3 separate regions of the Homo sapiens genome follow, and regions 2 and 3 are each linked to region 1. The links are contacts of gene promoters, found by promoter capture Hi-C in blood cells and fetal thymus (Javierre and others, 2016). All regions are on one chromosome and are shown on one strand. The core of a region is centred on a gene start or on the middle of the fragment in contact, and the rest is flanking DNA. Distances in the headings are between cores, read along the strand shown.

Region 1 (5,106 bases), core at 1,039-3,538:
CATAGCTCATTGCAGCCTCTAACGCCTGGGCTCAAAGGATCCTTCCACCTTAGCCTCCCAAGTAGCTGGGATTACAGGCACGCACCACCACACCCAGCTAATTAAAAAATTTTTTTTTTTGTAGAGACAGGGGTCTTGTCATGTTGCCCAGGCTGGTCATGAACTCCTGACTTCAAGTGATTTTCCTATCTCAGTCTCCTAAAGCGCATGGATTACAGGCATGAGCCACCATGCCGGGCGCTAAGCAATTCTTATTATTTATTTATTTATTTATTTATTTATTTTTTTCTGAGACGGAGTCTTGCTCTGTTGCCCAGGCTGGAGTGCAGTGGCGCGAACTCGGCTCACTGCAAGCTCCATCTCCCAGGTTCATGCTATTCTCTTGCCTCAGCCTCCTCAGTAGCTGGGACTACATGCGCCTGCCACCACGCCCGGCTAATTTTTTGTAGTTTTAGTAGAGACAAGGTTTCACCATGTTAGCCAGGCTGATCTCGAACTCCTGACCTCGTGATCCGCCCACCTCTGCCTCCCAAAATGCTGGGATTACAGGCGTGAGCCACCACCTCCGGCCTAAGCAATTCTTAAATAAAAATCTATGATTCCGCCAGGCATGGTGGCTCACACCTGTAATCCGTGCACTTTGGGAGGCCGAGGCGGGTGGATCACAAGTTCAGGAGTTCGAGACCAGCCTGGCCAACATGGTGCAATCCCTGTCTCTACTAAAAATACAAAAGTTAGGTGGGCATGGTGGCTTTTTTTTTTTTTTTTTTAGACGGGAGTCTCTGTCATCCATGCTGGAGTGCAGTGGCAGGATCTTGGCTCACTGCAACCTCTGCCTCCCAGGTTCAAGCGATTCTCCGGCCTCAGCCTCCCAATTGGCTGAGACTACAGGCGTGTGCCACCACGCCCGGCTAATTTTTTAGTATTAGTAGAGATGGGGGTTTCACCATCTTGGCCGGGCTGGTCTCGAACTCCTGACTTCGTGATCTGCCCTCCCTGGCGTCCCAAAGTGCTGGGATTACAGGCATGAGCCACTGTGCCCTGCCAAAAAGCCTATGATTCTAACATCAGAAATCCTTCCACCTCAGCCTCCCACGTAGCTGGGACTATAGACTCAGTACCACCACACCAAGCTAATTTTTGTATTTTTAATAGAGATAGCGTTTCCCTATATTGACCACCTGGGGCCATCCCTGGTTTTTTTTTTTTTTCCCTTCCTTCCTTCCTTTCCCTCTCTCTTTCCCTCCCTCCTTCCTTCCTTTCTTTCTTTCTTTCTTTTTTTTTTTTTTTTACAGAGTCTTGCTCTGTTACCCAGGTTGGAGTGCAGAGGCATGATCTTGGCTTACTACAACCTCCGCCTCCCGGATTCAAGCAATTATCCTACCTCAGCCTTCCAAGTAGCTGGGACTACAAGTGTGAGCCACCATGCCCTGCTAATTTTTTTATTTTTACTAAAGACGGGATTTCACCACATTAGCCAGGCTGGTCTCCAACTCCTGATTTAAAGTAATCTGCCTGCCTTGGCCTTCCGAAGTGCTGAGATTACAGGTGCGAGTCACCGTGCCTGGCCTATTCCTGTTTTCTTAACGCTCCTCTCTCCCACTGGGCCGTGACTGCCTCTAAGGCAGAGATGTGTTCATTTTTATTATTATTGTATGTCCAGGGCTGGGCACAAAGTGCAACACATAGTAGGGACATGAAAGGCTGGGCACAGTGGCTCATGGTTGTAATCCCAGCACTTTGGGAGGCAGAGGCGGGAGGATGGCTTGAGGCCAGGAGTTGGAGACCAGCCTAGGCAACAGAGGGACCCCATCTCTATGAAAAAAAAAAAAAAAAATTGACAGTTCAATGTCACCTCTGATAAGCCTTCCCTGACCACCCCTGTTACTCTGTAGCCCCATGTCCTGCTTTATTTTTCTCCAAAGCATTTATCATCGCTGGGTTTATATTTATTTCTCTTCGGGCTTTTCTCACTGGATCGTAAACTCCATGAGGACAGGGCTTTGTCGATTTCACTCAATACCGTTATTTTACAACATCCCTATTGCTGGGATCTCAGTATGCACTCCTTAAATATTTGCAGAATTTAAGTGCCACATAAGTGACCACGTGGGCAACGCCCTCGGGGCCTTAAGCCGCGCCATTTTTGGGGCTAGGATTGGTTGGACCCTCCGTCACGTGACATGCAGTCGCCGGATCGCCTTTGAGTCTCGTGAGGTACTTTTGGTCCCAGGCTCCGCGGACGAGGTACTGCGCAGGCGTGGGAGGGTCTGCGCATGCGCAGAAGCACTCCGGGCGTGCTGCCGGCGGCGGTAGGTGGCGCGCGGGTCCGGCGGGCGGTTGGCTTGAGCGGGACCGGAGCTGAGGCAGGAAGAGCCGGCGCCATGGTGGAGAAGGAGGAGGCTGGCGGCGGCATTAGCGAGGAGGAGGCGGCACAGTATGACCGGCAGATCCGCCTGTGGGGACTGGAGGCCCAGAAACGGTCAGGGCCGGCGCGGCTTGAGGCCGCTAGGGTCTGGAGGGGGCGTCTATTCTGAGGCGTTTGCGGCCCGGAAGGAGCGGGAAGGTGTGATTTGAAGGGAGGAGGCGGGAATTCTGTGCTCTGGGATCGTCTCTCTCTTGGGGGGACTGGAGGAGTTGATTGGGGATGTTTCTGGAAGGTCTGGGAAGTGGTTGGGAGGGCCGTTCCGAAGGATGGGAGCTCTGAAGGGGGCGTTGGGGAGTCCTGAGAGAGCGGGAGAATTCAAACTCAGGAAATCCGAGGCCCGAAAGCGGTGATTGTGGGGTTTGATCGCGGTTAGGGGATAAGAGGGGCTGGGGATACGTGGAAAGGGTGAGGTGAGGGACGCAGTTCATTCATTCGAGGGTATGGGACCTGGTTCCGTGCTGCACACAGGGGAGACTGGACTGGCCAACCGGACAGACGGGAGCTTACACTCTTGTGGGAGCTCACGGGCGGGCCAGTCTGAGAGAATGCGGGTTTTGAGGAGTTTTGGAGCAAGTTATCTCAAATGGGAATCTTGAGAGGCTCGGAGAGGCTGGAGGGGGACGGCCGTAGGCTCCCGAAAAGGTTGCTTGTGTTTGGTATGGGGCTGTGTCTTGATAGGACAGGAGACGTAGTTTGGGCATTGTGGAGTAGCTTAGGGAATTCTTTTTTTTTTTTTTTTTTTTTTTGAGATAGTCTCTCTCTGTCGCCCAGGCTGGAGGGCAGTGGCGCGATCTCGGCTCACTGCAACCTCTGCCTCCCGGATTCAAGCGATTCTCCTAACTCAGCCTCCCGAGTAGCTGGGATTATAGGGGCCCGCCAGCACGCCCGGCTAATTTTTGTATTTTTAGTAGACACGGGGTTTCGCCATATTGACGAGACTGGTCTCGATCTCCTTACCTCAAGTGATCCACCCGCCTCGGCCTCCTGAAGTGCTGGGATTACAGGAGTGAGCCACCGCGCCAGGACGTCTTTTGTTTTGTGCAGTTGGGTGACCTCGGTTCACTGCAGCCTCTGGCCTCCCGGGTTCAAGACTTCCTCTCACCTCAGTCTTCTGAGTAGCTGGGATTACAGGCTCGCGCCACCATGCCTGGCTAATTTTTGTATTTTTAGTAGACATGGGTTTTCACCATGTTGGCCAGGCTGGTCTCAAACTCCGGACCTCAAGTGATCTGCCCGCCACAGCCTCCCAAAGTGGTTGGATTACAGACGTGAGCCACTGTGCCCAGCTTGTTTTTTTTTTTTTTCTTTCTCTGTGGCCCAGTGGAGTGCAGTGGTGGGATCACAGCTCACTGTAGCCTCAACCTCCAAGGCTCAAGGGATATTCCCTCTTCAGCCTCCCAAGTAGCTGGGACTACAGGCGTGCCCCACCACATCATCCGACTAATTTTTGTTTTTTTTTTTTTTTGTAGGATGGGGTTTTGCCATGTTGCCCAGACTGGTCTTGAACTCCCAAGCTCAAGCGATCCTCGGCCTCAAGAGATCTCCCCCCATCTCAGACTCCTAAAATGCTGGGATTACAGGCATGAGCTACCATGCCTGGCCTCATTGATCAATATTTTTACTTAGCCTGGACGCAGTGACTCACACCTGTAATCCCAGCACTTTGGGAAGCTGAGTTGGGGGGAGGGGACCTCTTGAGCCCAGGAGTTTGAGACTAGCCTGGGTAATGTTGCCAAACCCAGTCTCTACAAAAAAATACAAAAATTAGCCAGGCATGGTGACATAAGTTTATAGTCCCAGCTTGTCAGGAGACTGAGGTGGGAGCATCACCTGAGCCCCTGGGAGGTGGAGGTTGCAGTGAGCCATGATCACACCACTACACCCCAGCCTGGGTGACAGAGTGAGGCCCCGTCTCAAAAAAAAAAAAAAAATCCACAAGCGTGTGTATATGTGTCAGTTATTAAAGGATGGTGAAGTGAGAGGGTTGTTTTGATAGGTTGGCCAGGGAAGGGCTCTGAAGAGGTAACATTGAGCCTCAGACTTATATGGGAAAGAGCCCTGTGGTCATCTGGGAGAACTTTCCTAGCTAAGAGAACAGCAAGTGCAAATTCCCAGAGGCCCAGGCATGATTGTCAAATTAGAGAAATAAGGTGGCAGGAACCAAATGATTTGAGGAGTAGCTTTTATTCTAAGTGTGTGGGAAAACCTGTTGGAGTGTTTTGAGTGTGGGAGTAACATGATCTGTTTTTTGTTTGTTTTTTGAGACGGAGTCTTGCTCTGTGGCCCAGGCTGGAGTGCAATGGCACGATCTCGGCTCACTGCCATTGCAGTGAATCCGCCTCCCAGGTTCAAGCGATTCTCCTGCCTCACCTTCCTGAGTAGCTGGGACTATCGGCATGTGCCACAACACCCGGCTAATCTTGAGTATTTTTAGTAGAGACGGGGTTTCACCATGTTAGACAGGATAGTCTCGATCTCCTGACCTCGTGATCCGCCTGCCTTGGGCTCCCAAAGTGCTGTGATTACAGGCGTGAGCCACTGCGGCCTGGCCTGGTTTGTGTTTTAAAATGATCGCTCCAGAATAGGTTAAAGTGGTCAGAAATGGAAGTAAAGATTCTGGCTGGACTGTTGCAGTAATCCAGTTGAGATAAAAATATTGGTGGCTTGAAACTCAAGAG
Region 2 (5,106 bases), core at 1,210-3,709, 510 kb before region 1:
GATGCAGAAAGACCCCTCCAGAAAGCCAGGAGCTGTCTGACTGAGGACCAAGCCTCTGTCTGATTTGTTTTTGTTTTCTTTGTTTTTGTTTTGAGACAAGGTCTTGCTCTGTCAGCTAGGCTGGGATGCAGTGGTATAATCACAGCTCACTGCAGCCTCAACCTCCCAGGCCGGAGCAATCCTCCCACCTCAGCCTCACAAGTAGCTGAGACCACAGGCACAGGCCATCATGCCAGGCTAATTTTTAAATGTTTCATAGAGATGGGGTTTCACCATGTTGCCCAGGCTGGTCTCAAACCTCTGGGCTCAAGTGATCGTCCTGCCTCGCCTTTCTTTTTCTTTTTTTTCTTATTTTTTTTTTTTTTTTTTTGGGACGGGGTCTCACTCTGTCACCCAGGCTATAGTGCAGTGGCACGATCTCAGCTCACTGCAACCTCCGCCTCCGGGGTTCAAGCGATTCTCCTGGCTCAGCCTCCCAAGTAGCTGGGACTTCAGGCATGTGCCACTACGTCCGGCTACTTTTTATTTATTTATTTGTTGTATTTTTAGTAGAGACAGGGTTTCATCATGTTGGCCAGACTGGTCTCGAACTCCTGACCTCAAATGATCCGCCGGCCTCGGCCTCCCAAAGTGCTGGGATTACAGGTGTGAGCCACCGCATCCGGTCCTGCCTCGGCCTTTCTACATGCTGGGATTACAGGCGTGAGCCACCATGCCCACGATGTCTCACCTCTTTTGAGCCTCAGTCTCCCCATCTGTGACATGGGCACAACCCACAGAGCTGCCCTCCTCCTCTCCCCACTCCTCCCAGCTCCGGAGGGGACTCACCGTGAGAGGCAGGGAGCACACGGCCATGACCACTGTCATGAGGGCCAGCAGGATCAGGTGGTCCACCTCGTCCTCTCCGGTGCGCGGCCGTGGACCCAGAGAGCCCTGGTGGCGCTTCTGCTGGCGGTACATGCGGCAGAGGCTGAGGGTGACCGAGCCGTTGCAGAGGAAGATGGCAGCCACCAGCAGGGCCACCAGGCCGGCGTAGGCCAGCGAGAAGGCGGCGCCGCCCGGCTGGGCCCAGCGCATGCGGAGGAAGCACCAGCTGCCGGGGCAGTACTGCTGGTGTTGGCCCAGGCCCAGCAGGGGCAGCGCGCAGAAGAGGACGCAGAAGGCGTAGATGGCTGGCAGCGCCAGGCGGGCGCAGCGGGGCCCGTCCAGCTGCGCGTAGAGGTAGGGGTGGCTCAGCGCCAGGCAGCGCTCCACGGCCATGGCAAAGAGGATGAGCATGGACGCCAGGCCGAAGAAGGTCATGGCGAAGGCGAAGGCATCGCACAGGGCGGGGCCGCCTCGGGCCAGGCCCAGCAGGGAGCTGTTGCGCGCATAGGCCACGAACACGGCCGGGCTCAGGAAGCTGGTGCCCAGCAGGTCGGTGGCCGCCAGTCCGGTCACCAGCACCGCGAAGGCCGAGGGGCGCGCCGGTCGCCGTGCGCTCAGGATGCCCAGGGCCAGCCCGTTGCCCACCACACCGGCCACGAACATCAGGGTGCTGGTGGCCGGCCCCACCGAGCCCCGCACGTAGGTGAGGTTCCTGCACGAATCCGCCATCCCAGGTCTGGGCTGGAGGGTTCCCAAGGTGGGGGGTCAGAGGGAGCCAGGGCTACCCCCACCACCCAGCCCACTCAGATGTCCCTGCTGGCCAGTCCTTTTGGCAGCTGGGGCCTCCCAGCCAACCCCCAGTTCTCCTGTGTGTGCGGGTATGCAGTCCTCTCCCCTCTGGCTTCTCCAGTATCTCTCTCTGTCTCTCCCCACCTTCCTGTTTCTCTTTCTCTCTTTCTTTTCTTTCGTTTCTTTTGAGACAGAGTCTCACTCTGTTGTCCAGGATGGAGAGCAATGGCATGATCTCGGCTCACTGCAACCTCCACCTCCTGGGTTCAAGCGATTCTCCTGCCCCAGCCTCTGGAGTAGATGAGATTACAGGCGTCCACTACCACGCCCAGCTAATTTTTGTATTTTCAGTAGAGACGGGGTTCCACCATGTTGGTCAGGCTGGTCTCGAACTCCTGACCTCAGGTGATCCATCCACCTTGGCTTCCCAAAGTGCTGAGATTACAGGTGTGAGCCACCATGCCTGACACCCACCACCCCCCCACCACCTCCTGTTTCTTTCCTTCTCTAGCTCTGTTTCTGCCATTAAAGAGACAGAGAACATCCGGGCATTGCCAGTTCTTTCCCTCCCTGTCTCTCGGTCTCTTGCTGATATCTCCCTGTCTCTGTCCCCTCCCTTGTCCTTGTCCTCCCCGTACCTTTCTCCCTCTAACCCCACACCCTCTACCTGCTCCTGCTCTGTGTTGCTGCATCCCCAGCCCCTCACCGCACCTCTCCAGTCTTGCCCAGGCTCTCCTGTCCCGTGCGTCTGTGCCTTCACTTGCTTTGCTCCTCGTGTCTCTCGCTGCCTGTGTCGGTCTGTGTGTCAGCTTCTCCTTCCCTCCTCCCTCCGTCCCTCCCTCCTTCCCACCCTCCTCAGCTTGCCTGCTCACCCCAGCTTTTTCATTTCCTCTCTCTGCCCCGCCCTCCCTCACTGTTCTCCAGAGGGCCCCCTGGCACACTCCCCACTCCCCGTCCACCCGCCCAATCCAGGACATCCATCTCCCATCGCTGCCTCCACTCTCCTCCCCACATCCTCTCTTGGTTCCCATCACTGAGCCACCTGCCACCTCCCCACACACAGGTCTCCTCCCTCCCCCAGTGTCTCCCTCTCTGGCCTGGGTGGGGAATTCCTGAGTCACCATCACTTAGGCTTGGAGCCTCCCGGGGTAGTAGGGGGCCTCTAGGAGGGACCTGAAGAGCACAGTTGACCAGGCTTCAGTGGGGTGGTCTTGGCCTGGGCTGTCTCAGGGTGGCCTCTGGGATCTATTCTGGGCTCCAGGCCCCGGGGCTGAGGACATTGCCCAGGGATTGAGAAATGACCAGGAAATTCCTCTCTGATGTAGTGTTTTCCAGACACCACTGAGAGTTCTGGTCCCTGGACACAATTCACTCCTTCCAGAAAGCTGAGGAAGGAGGCTTGGCCAGAGAGAGACATGCCAGTCCCTCGAGCCTGTCCCTGGGCACCCAGCTCACCCTGCAGAGACCCGAGAAGAAAGCATGAAGGGGTGTATTTGGTGTCCAGTTGTCAGGGACAGGCTTGGGAGACTTCCATGGCCCATGATGGAAAGGTAGCACTGGGCCACCGTCCGACTTCTCGCACAGCACCCCTAGGCCCCAGGCCAAGCTCTGGTGACCTTGACCTTCAGGAATCATATTTTGATCACAGGAAGCTGTCCACAGCTCCAACATTGCTGCCATGTGTCCCCCACCCTCCCCAAACACAGCCAAGCCACCACCGCTGCAGCCTCGGGCCAGTGTGACAGACCCACATGTTCCCGCTACCCGCACAGCGTTCACGGGTCTCCCTTCCCACGGAGTCGGTGGCTTCCCAGGCAGCCTCCCAGCCCAAAAGGGCCAGATAAAACCTCAGAGACCCTCTCTGAGCCCCGCTGTTTCTCAGGGGGACGGTCTCAGATCCATTCGACTTGGCTTCCTGTTTCCATCTGACCACCTTTTTTCTTGCTGCGAGATGGTCCCAGGTGAGGAGAGGGAGCTGGTAGACTTCAGCCTCCTTCTCTGTGCGTGGGGTAACACGGGCCTCAGGGACCTGGTGGCCAGCCTCGGCCTGCAGCACATCCCAGATTGGTCTTTGTAACAAGGAGAGAGGCTGTGCGGGTGTCTCTTGTCCAAGGCCAGGAGGGATGTGTCCAACCCAAGGACTGGACTGTGGGCAGCTGCCGTCTTGCCCTCTGTACCCCGGTGTGTGACCACAACCCCTTTGCCCCTCCCCCCCATCTCCCTATCACCCTTGCCCAGCTGGCACCCGCAGCTTCCAGCAGGATGGACGCCCAAGTTCCAGCCCCACCGTGGCTCCCTAAGGGACCCCCCAGCCCTGCTCTGGGGGTGCCTGTACATGTGGGCTCCAGGTCCTGCCACGTTGTCCCGCCTCATGCCGTGAGGTCCCCAGACAGACCAGAGGGAACTCAGGAAGTTATATCATATTAATGAAGGATGATGCCTGGCAGGCGTGCATCTTGTTTCGGCATCGGGGGGGCCTCTGGTTCCCGGAGACTCCCTCTCTCGCTTCCTGTTACAAGGACGGTTAACATTCAGGAAGTCCCCTCTGCTCCCATGCCCAGTGGGACCACAGTCAAACCCTTGTCCCTTCCAGGCCTCAGTTTCTTTTTTGTTGTTGTTTTTCTTTTTGCTTGTTTGTTTTTGTTTTGAGATGGAATCTTGCTCTGTCACCCAGGCTGGAGTACACTGGCATGATCTCAGCTCACTGCAACCTCCGCCTCCCGGGTTCAAGCGACTCTCGTGCCTCAGCCTCCCGAGTAGCTGGGATTACAGGCATGTGCCACTGCGCCCAATTTTTATATTTTTAGTAGAGGTGGGGTTTCACCATGTTGGCCAGGCTGGTCTTGAACGCCTGACCTCAGGTGATCCGCCCGCCTCGGCCTCCCATAGTGCTGGGATTACAGGCGTGAACCACCTTGCCTGGCTGTTCGTTTGTTTTTGAGACAGGGTCTTGCTCTGTCACCCAGGCTGGAGTGTAGTGCTGCAATCTCGGTTCACTGCAACCTCTACCTCTGGGGTTCAAGCGATCCTCCCACCTCAGCCTCCTGAGTAGCTGGGACTACAGGCACCCACTGCCACGCTAGCTAATTTTTGTATTTTTGTAAAGACAGGGTTTCACTGTGTCACCCAGGCTGGTCTCAAACTCCTGGACTCAAGTGATCTGCCTACCTCGGCTTCCCAAAGTGCTGGGATTATAGGCCACCACGCCTGGCCTCAGGCCTCAGTTTCCCCGCCGATGCCACTAGGAGTCATGAGCCCTCGCAACCCCAGGATCGGTTCTGTGTTCCTGCATCAGGAGCAGGTAGGGGTGGCAGTGACTGTGACTCCCTCCTAATGAGGGGACTGAGTTCCCCAGAGTCCGTACTGGCGCCAGACATGCCTCAGTCACCTTGCCCTGAAACCCAGCCTCCTGCTTGGCCGTGGCCCCAGCTAGCCGGGCCAAGCCCACAG
Region 3 (5,106 bases), core at 973-3,472, 470 kb before region 1:
TAGTGCTTTGAGAGGCTGAGACAGAAGGATTGCTTGAGCCCAGGAGTTGGAGACCAGCCTGAACAACATAGCAAGACCTCATATCTTTAAAAAAAAAAAAAAAATTAGCCAAATGTGGCGGTGTGCACCTGTAGTCCTAGCTTCTTGGGAGGCTGAGGCAGGAGGATTGCTTGAGGCCAAGTTAGAGGCTGCAGTGAGCTATGATCGTGCCACTGCACTTCAGCCTGAGAGACTTTGTCTCCAAAAATAAATGAATAAATAAATATATCATTTAAAAATACATAAATAAACGTGAAAGGATAGACTTTTTGGTAAGTTCTGCCAAGTCTAATTCCGGTTCTTCCATTACAAGGAAGAGCAGAAATTAGGGAGACAGACAGGAGATGCCTCCTCCTCTCCAGCACCTAGACGCCCCCCAAAAATATTCCAAGTCTACACCCCTCTATTTGCAAGTCTGGCCTCATTCCTTCCAGTTGCAAAAGGATGAATCTTTAAAAGATTAGAAAGTCCTTGGCCTGAGTCTGGCTCTCTGCCTCCTCACGGTGCCCCTCATCCTTCCTCTGCAGGCTTAATAAGAGTGTGGTTAGGACCCCTGGAGACCCCTTTGCCCAAACTTCCCTTACCTTGTTTCTCCCCTCACGTGCCCCTCGTTGGTATCCAGTGCCCATTTATCTCTATTAGGAAGTCATTCTGCAAGTCTAACTTAAGTTATTCTTGATGAAAGGAACCTTTTTCCTTCTTGAGAGCAAGCAGGACCCAGGGAGCCCCTGCCCTCACCCAGGATTCCTGCCTCTCTTCTCTGCCACACCCCTGATCTTTACCTGGTATCCCCATCATTCCTATTAGAAAGTAATCAAGTCTGGCTTCAGTCTTTCTTGCCTTGAAGGAAGTGTATTCCTGGCAGGGGCTGGGGGTGGGGGGATAAGTCATAAGACAAGGGTTGGGGGATCAGAAGAAGCCCTAATCCACTCTTCAGAGGGACCCAGGAACCCCCAGCACTAGAGAAGTTTATATTTAGCGCTTCTCTGCTCCTCCTCCTCCCCCCGCCTGCCACCGCCTCCTCCCTGATGCTGGGACAAGCTTTGCCTAGAGACTGGGGGGTGGGGGGACAGGCCTCTCCACTATCAGCTCGTGCCGGGAGGACAGAGGGCTGAGGGGGAGGAGGGGACAGAGGGACCGAGGAGAGGGAGACTGAAGGGCAGAGATGGGGAAGGTGAAGGGTGAAAAGGGGAGAGACCGAGGGCAGAGGGGGAGAGGACACAGCTACCCACAGCTACCCCAACCTCATGCCTCGCATTCTCCTTGTCAGGATGGAAGGCGCCTTCCAAGCCGAGCCAGCTTGGGGTGGGGGGAGCTAGCGAAGGCCCCCACAATCCGTCTCTAACTTTGGGAGGGGGTGGGGCCTCCCACAGCTGTTTCTGTTTCCAGAAAAGAATGTGCAGGGGGGTCCCACTCCTGAGAGGGGGAGGGGCCGGGCGTGCAGCCCCGGGAGCCTGGCTTCAGTCTTCCTCCCCACTCCCCATCTGGGGAGGGGGCGGTCGAGGTCAGCGGCGGGGAGAGCCCCCTCCACTGCCACCTCGGCTCAGGTTTCCCGAAACGGGAAGCTCTGGCCACACACAGGCTTGGGGATGGGGATCTGCCGTGGAGCCAGGGTGTGCGGGCTGGGGGGAGGGGAAGACAGACTGAGCCTGGGACGTCGGGCAAGAAGAAGAGAGCGAGGTGCAGACAGGCAGGAAGGGAAGGCCAAGGAGACAGATGCAGAGGGACACAGAGATCACAGAGACAGAGAGACAGGATGAAGAAAGAGAAGCAGACACAGAAAGTCACAGGGATGTGGCAGGACGGAGAGAGTGACAGAACCCAGGACGAGATCGGGAGACTCAAGGAATGACATAGAAAGGGGAGAGGCATGGGGCGTCCTCAAGTCATTCCGGAGACCTCTGCCCATCTTCCACCATGAGAACACCCAGAGTCCAGAAGTCTCCCCCAGGCGCTGCCTCGACCTGCCTCCCCTTGGGTCAAGGAGAGCTGGGGCCAGGTAGGAAGCAGGGGAAGTGTCACCAAAGGGTCAAGATCCCAGTGGGGGGTCCTCAGGGACTGTGAGCTTCCTCTCAGCAGTGGTCCCTCCCTCTGGAGGCCCTGAGATTCCCCTCCTCCCACCCCGCCCCCTCCAGAGATCTCCAAGCACACCAGGACTTAGGGAAGATGGAGCCCTGGTGGCGGGGCCCAGAGAAGGGCATGTTTGGAGCCTGGCTGTGTCACCTTGGGTGAGTCGCTTGCTCTCTCTGAGCCTCAATTTGTTTCTCTGTTAAATGGGGACTATCACCCCGTTTCCCAAGCCGCAAGAAGACAACGCCTGCAAAGTACCCGGTCTCGGGTTTGACACATACTTGGCGCCCACAAGGATTTTCTTTGGGGAAGGGGTGTAAGAGACAGGGCCTGTGTTTCTCACGAGGCCCCAGTGGGGGCGATGCAGTTCCCCCTCCCCCGATTTGGGGGCGGGGAGGCCAGGTCCGGCCCGCCGCCGGAACTCCGGGGTCGCCAGCCCCACCCCCTGTCCTTTCTCACTCCCTGCCTACCCGGGTCCCCAACCCCCGCCCGGTGTCTGAGCATCCAACCGAGACAGACAGACACAGACGGGGGTGGAGGGACGGACGGACAGGCAGCCCCTTACCAGCTGCTCCTCCAGGGCCGCTGCGGCCCGGCGCGCCGCCGCCGCATCTTCATCCTCATCGGCGTCCTCCTCGTCCTCGGCCTCGGCGCCCCCCATTCCGGGCTGGGCCAGCCGCAGCGCCTGCTGCACGCGGTACTCCTGCCTCTCCCGGAGCCAATGTAACTCGCAGAGCCCGGCCAGGCTACCCTCCAGCCAGCCCCGCAGCCGGCCCCGCTCAGGGCTCACCGGGAACGAGAAGGCCCGGATCATGGCTGCGGCCCCCCGCCCCAGCCCGGCCGGGCCCCGCGGCCACCCCTCTCCCGGTCCCACCTCCCCGCCCCAGCAGCCTGCCCGCCCGCCCGCTGGCCGGGCTGTCACCGTCTCATCTGCATAGGCGCCCGCCCATTGGGCCGCCCACCCGCGCCTTATCTGCATGGCCACGCCCCCGGCGACCGAGCAACAGCCGCCTATTGGCGAATAAGCTTCCTGACGAAGACTCTCGGGCGTGCAACCGCACCGCCCAACACGACGCATGCTCGCAACTGCCTACTCACTCCGCTCGCCACGCCCCCTCCGTGCAACTGCCTCGGGGCCCTGGCCACGCCCCCCCACGCGTCACAATGAAACAAGCCCGCCCTTGCTTCAATGCCATTGGTCTGTGCCTGGCCGGTCCTGCAGCAGGTTCCACCCTCTTGCGGGCGAGCGCTGGCTACCATTGGACTGTCCGGCGCGAGGGGAAGGGTGATCTATAAATAGGGAATGGGTACACGTGACAGTTTGGCAGCTGCTCCTACCCCTCCACCCCGCCCAACCTTCAGCTTCTGAGGCTGCGCAGGGGGAGAAAAGGGTTAGGGGGTCGAGCCCTGACTTCGCCTCCTCTTCCAAGAAGCCTTCCCAGACACTCAGCTGTAAAACCAGACGGACGTCCTCCGATGAAATTGTTTCTACTTAGGGCCGGCTTCACCGGCTTGGAATCCACTTAGAAGGGTCTTCGCGCTTGGTTGAATGTTCTGCAATTTCTGTCTTGAAATTTTTAGTTTTTGAGCAAGGGGCCCCTTATTTTCACTTTGCACTAGGCCAAATATGTAGCCGGTCTTGCTGCTAAGAGTCTAAGATCGATTGCATTCCAAATTCTGGAATTATAAGACCCTGGGTGGAAGATTCTATGCTTTGACCAGAAGAGAGTCTAAGCAGCTTTTGTCTCCCAGGTGCTAGGAGGATGTGTGCTCATCATTCTTCCATTCCAGGGGCCTTTGTTCTACGTTCTAAGGGGCTTTGTTCTCAGCCTTCTATGATGCTCTATTCTCAACGTTCTCTGGTCCTAGGAGTCTGAGCCTGACATTCGTTTCCAAGGCTTCCTGCTGTCTCTCCAGGCTCCGCAAGCAGGGCTGGGGCACCCTCAGGCGGCCAATCTGTATCACTACGCCGAGCCTGCCTCTACCAACTTCCAAGACCTAGCTCTAATATTCATACTCATCTCTCAGACAGACCTTGGCTCCCTAAAAGCCAAGGCCCAGAAGATCATACAAGAAATTCCCTCTTTTATGATTCCCCGTGCACGAAGTGACCTTCTGGTGGTGAGATGGAGAGAAATTGATAGTGGCGATAGACAGCAAAGTCTCCAGGAGCCAGACTTCCTCGGGGTGAGTCACAGATCTGTCACTTTCCAGCTGTGTGACCTTGGAAAACTTACTTAACCTCTCTGTGCCACCGTTTCTTCATCTGATCACGGGATCATAATACTGGCTGCCTCATACAGTTGTTCTGAGGATTCAATGAAATGTATTAGGTACTTGGAGCAGTGTCTTCCATGGATTAAGAGCCACAGAAGGGTTTGACAAATAAGTTTAAAAACTAATCTAGTAAGTTTCCGGGGGGAAATGTCTTGAAATTTATTAGAGACAACCTTTATTCAGTCTTCCTCTTGTTCAAAATAGACTTAGAAAATTAGTCGGGTGTGGTGGTGCACACCTGTAGCCCCAGCTACTTGGGAGGCTGAGGCGGGAGGATCACTTGATTTCCTTTTTGACTTCTTGATGCTTTTATTAATGATGATGCCAAAAGATTTCTGGAGAATCAGCCAGGCGCAGTGGCTCACGTCTGTAATCCCAGTACTTTGGGAGGCTGAGGCGGGCAGATCACCTGAGTTCAGGAGTTCAGATCAGCCTGGCCAACATGGCGAAACCCCATCTGTACTAAAAATACAAAAATTAGCTGGGCATGATGGCACACACCGAGACTGTGGCACTGCACTCCAGCCTGGGTAACAGAGGGAGACTCCGTCTCAAAAAAAGAAAGAAAGAAAGAAATTGAGAGAGAGAGAGAGAGAAAGAAAGAAAGAAAAAGAAAGAGAGAGAGAAAGAAAGATAGATGTCTGGAGAATCAACAAGCAACAGTTGCTTCCAAACATGGCACACAAACTGGATATGGTGGCATGTACCTGTAGTGCGAGC

The links. Contacts are between HindIII fragments. The CHiCAGO score rates a contact against its expected background, and 5 or more counts as called.
Region 2: the fragment with the promoter of PTGIR here is called in contact with the fragment with the promoter of SAE1 in region 1 in 1 of 17 cell types (total B cells); the score reaches 5.7 in total B cells.
Region 3: the fragment with the promoter of DACT3-AS1 here is called in contact with the fragment with the promoter of SAE1 in region 1 in 5 of 17 cell types (total B cells, non-activated CD4 T cells, naive B cells and 2 more); the score reaches 8.3 in total B cells.

The regions. Positions count from the first base shown.
Region 1 is chr19:47,128,547-47,133,652 of GRCh38, forward strand. It overlaps SAE1 (SUMO1 activating enzyme subunit 1), which reads left to right and starts at 2,289. Exons shown (of 9, transcript NM_005500.3): 1 at 2,289-2,482. The coding sequence starts at 2,385. RefSeq lists enhancers at 2,063-2,677, 2,370-2,609. The HindIII fragment of the contact is 6,112 bases long and covers 1-5,106 here.
Region 2 is chr19:46,622,630-46,627,735 of GRCh38, forward strand. It overlaps PTGIR (prostaglandin I2 receptor), which reads right to left and starts at 2,460. Exons shown (of 3, transcript NM_000960.4): 1 at 2,368-2,460; 2 at 829-1,608. The coding sequence starts at 1,596. RefSeq lists an enhancer at 2,675-3,175. The HindIII fragment of the contact is 25,896 bases long and covers 1-5,106 here.
Region 3 is chr19:46,658,142-46,663,247 of GRCh38, forward strand. It overlaps DACT3-AS1 (DACT3 antisense RNA 1), which reads left to right and starts at 2,223. Exons shown (of 3, transcript NR_040042.1): 1 at 2,223-2,267. It overlaps DACT3 (dishevelled binding antagonist of beta catenin 3), which reads right to left and starts at 3,041. Exons shown (of 4, transcript NM_145056.3): 1 at 2,675-3,041. The coding sequence starts at 2,923. RefSeq lists silencers at 2,839-3,088, 3,299-3,418. The HindIII fragment of the contact is 2,055 bases long and covers 1,079-3,133 here.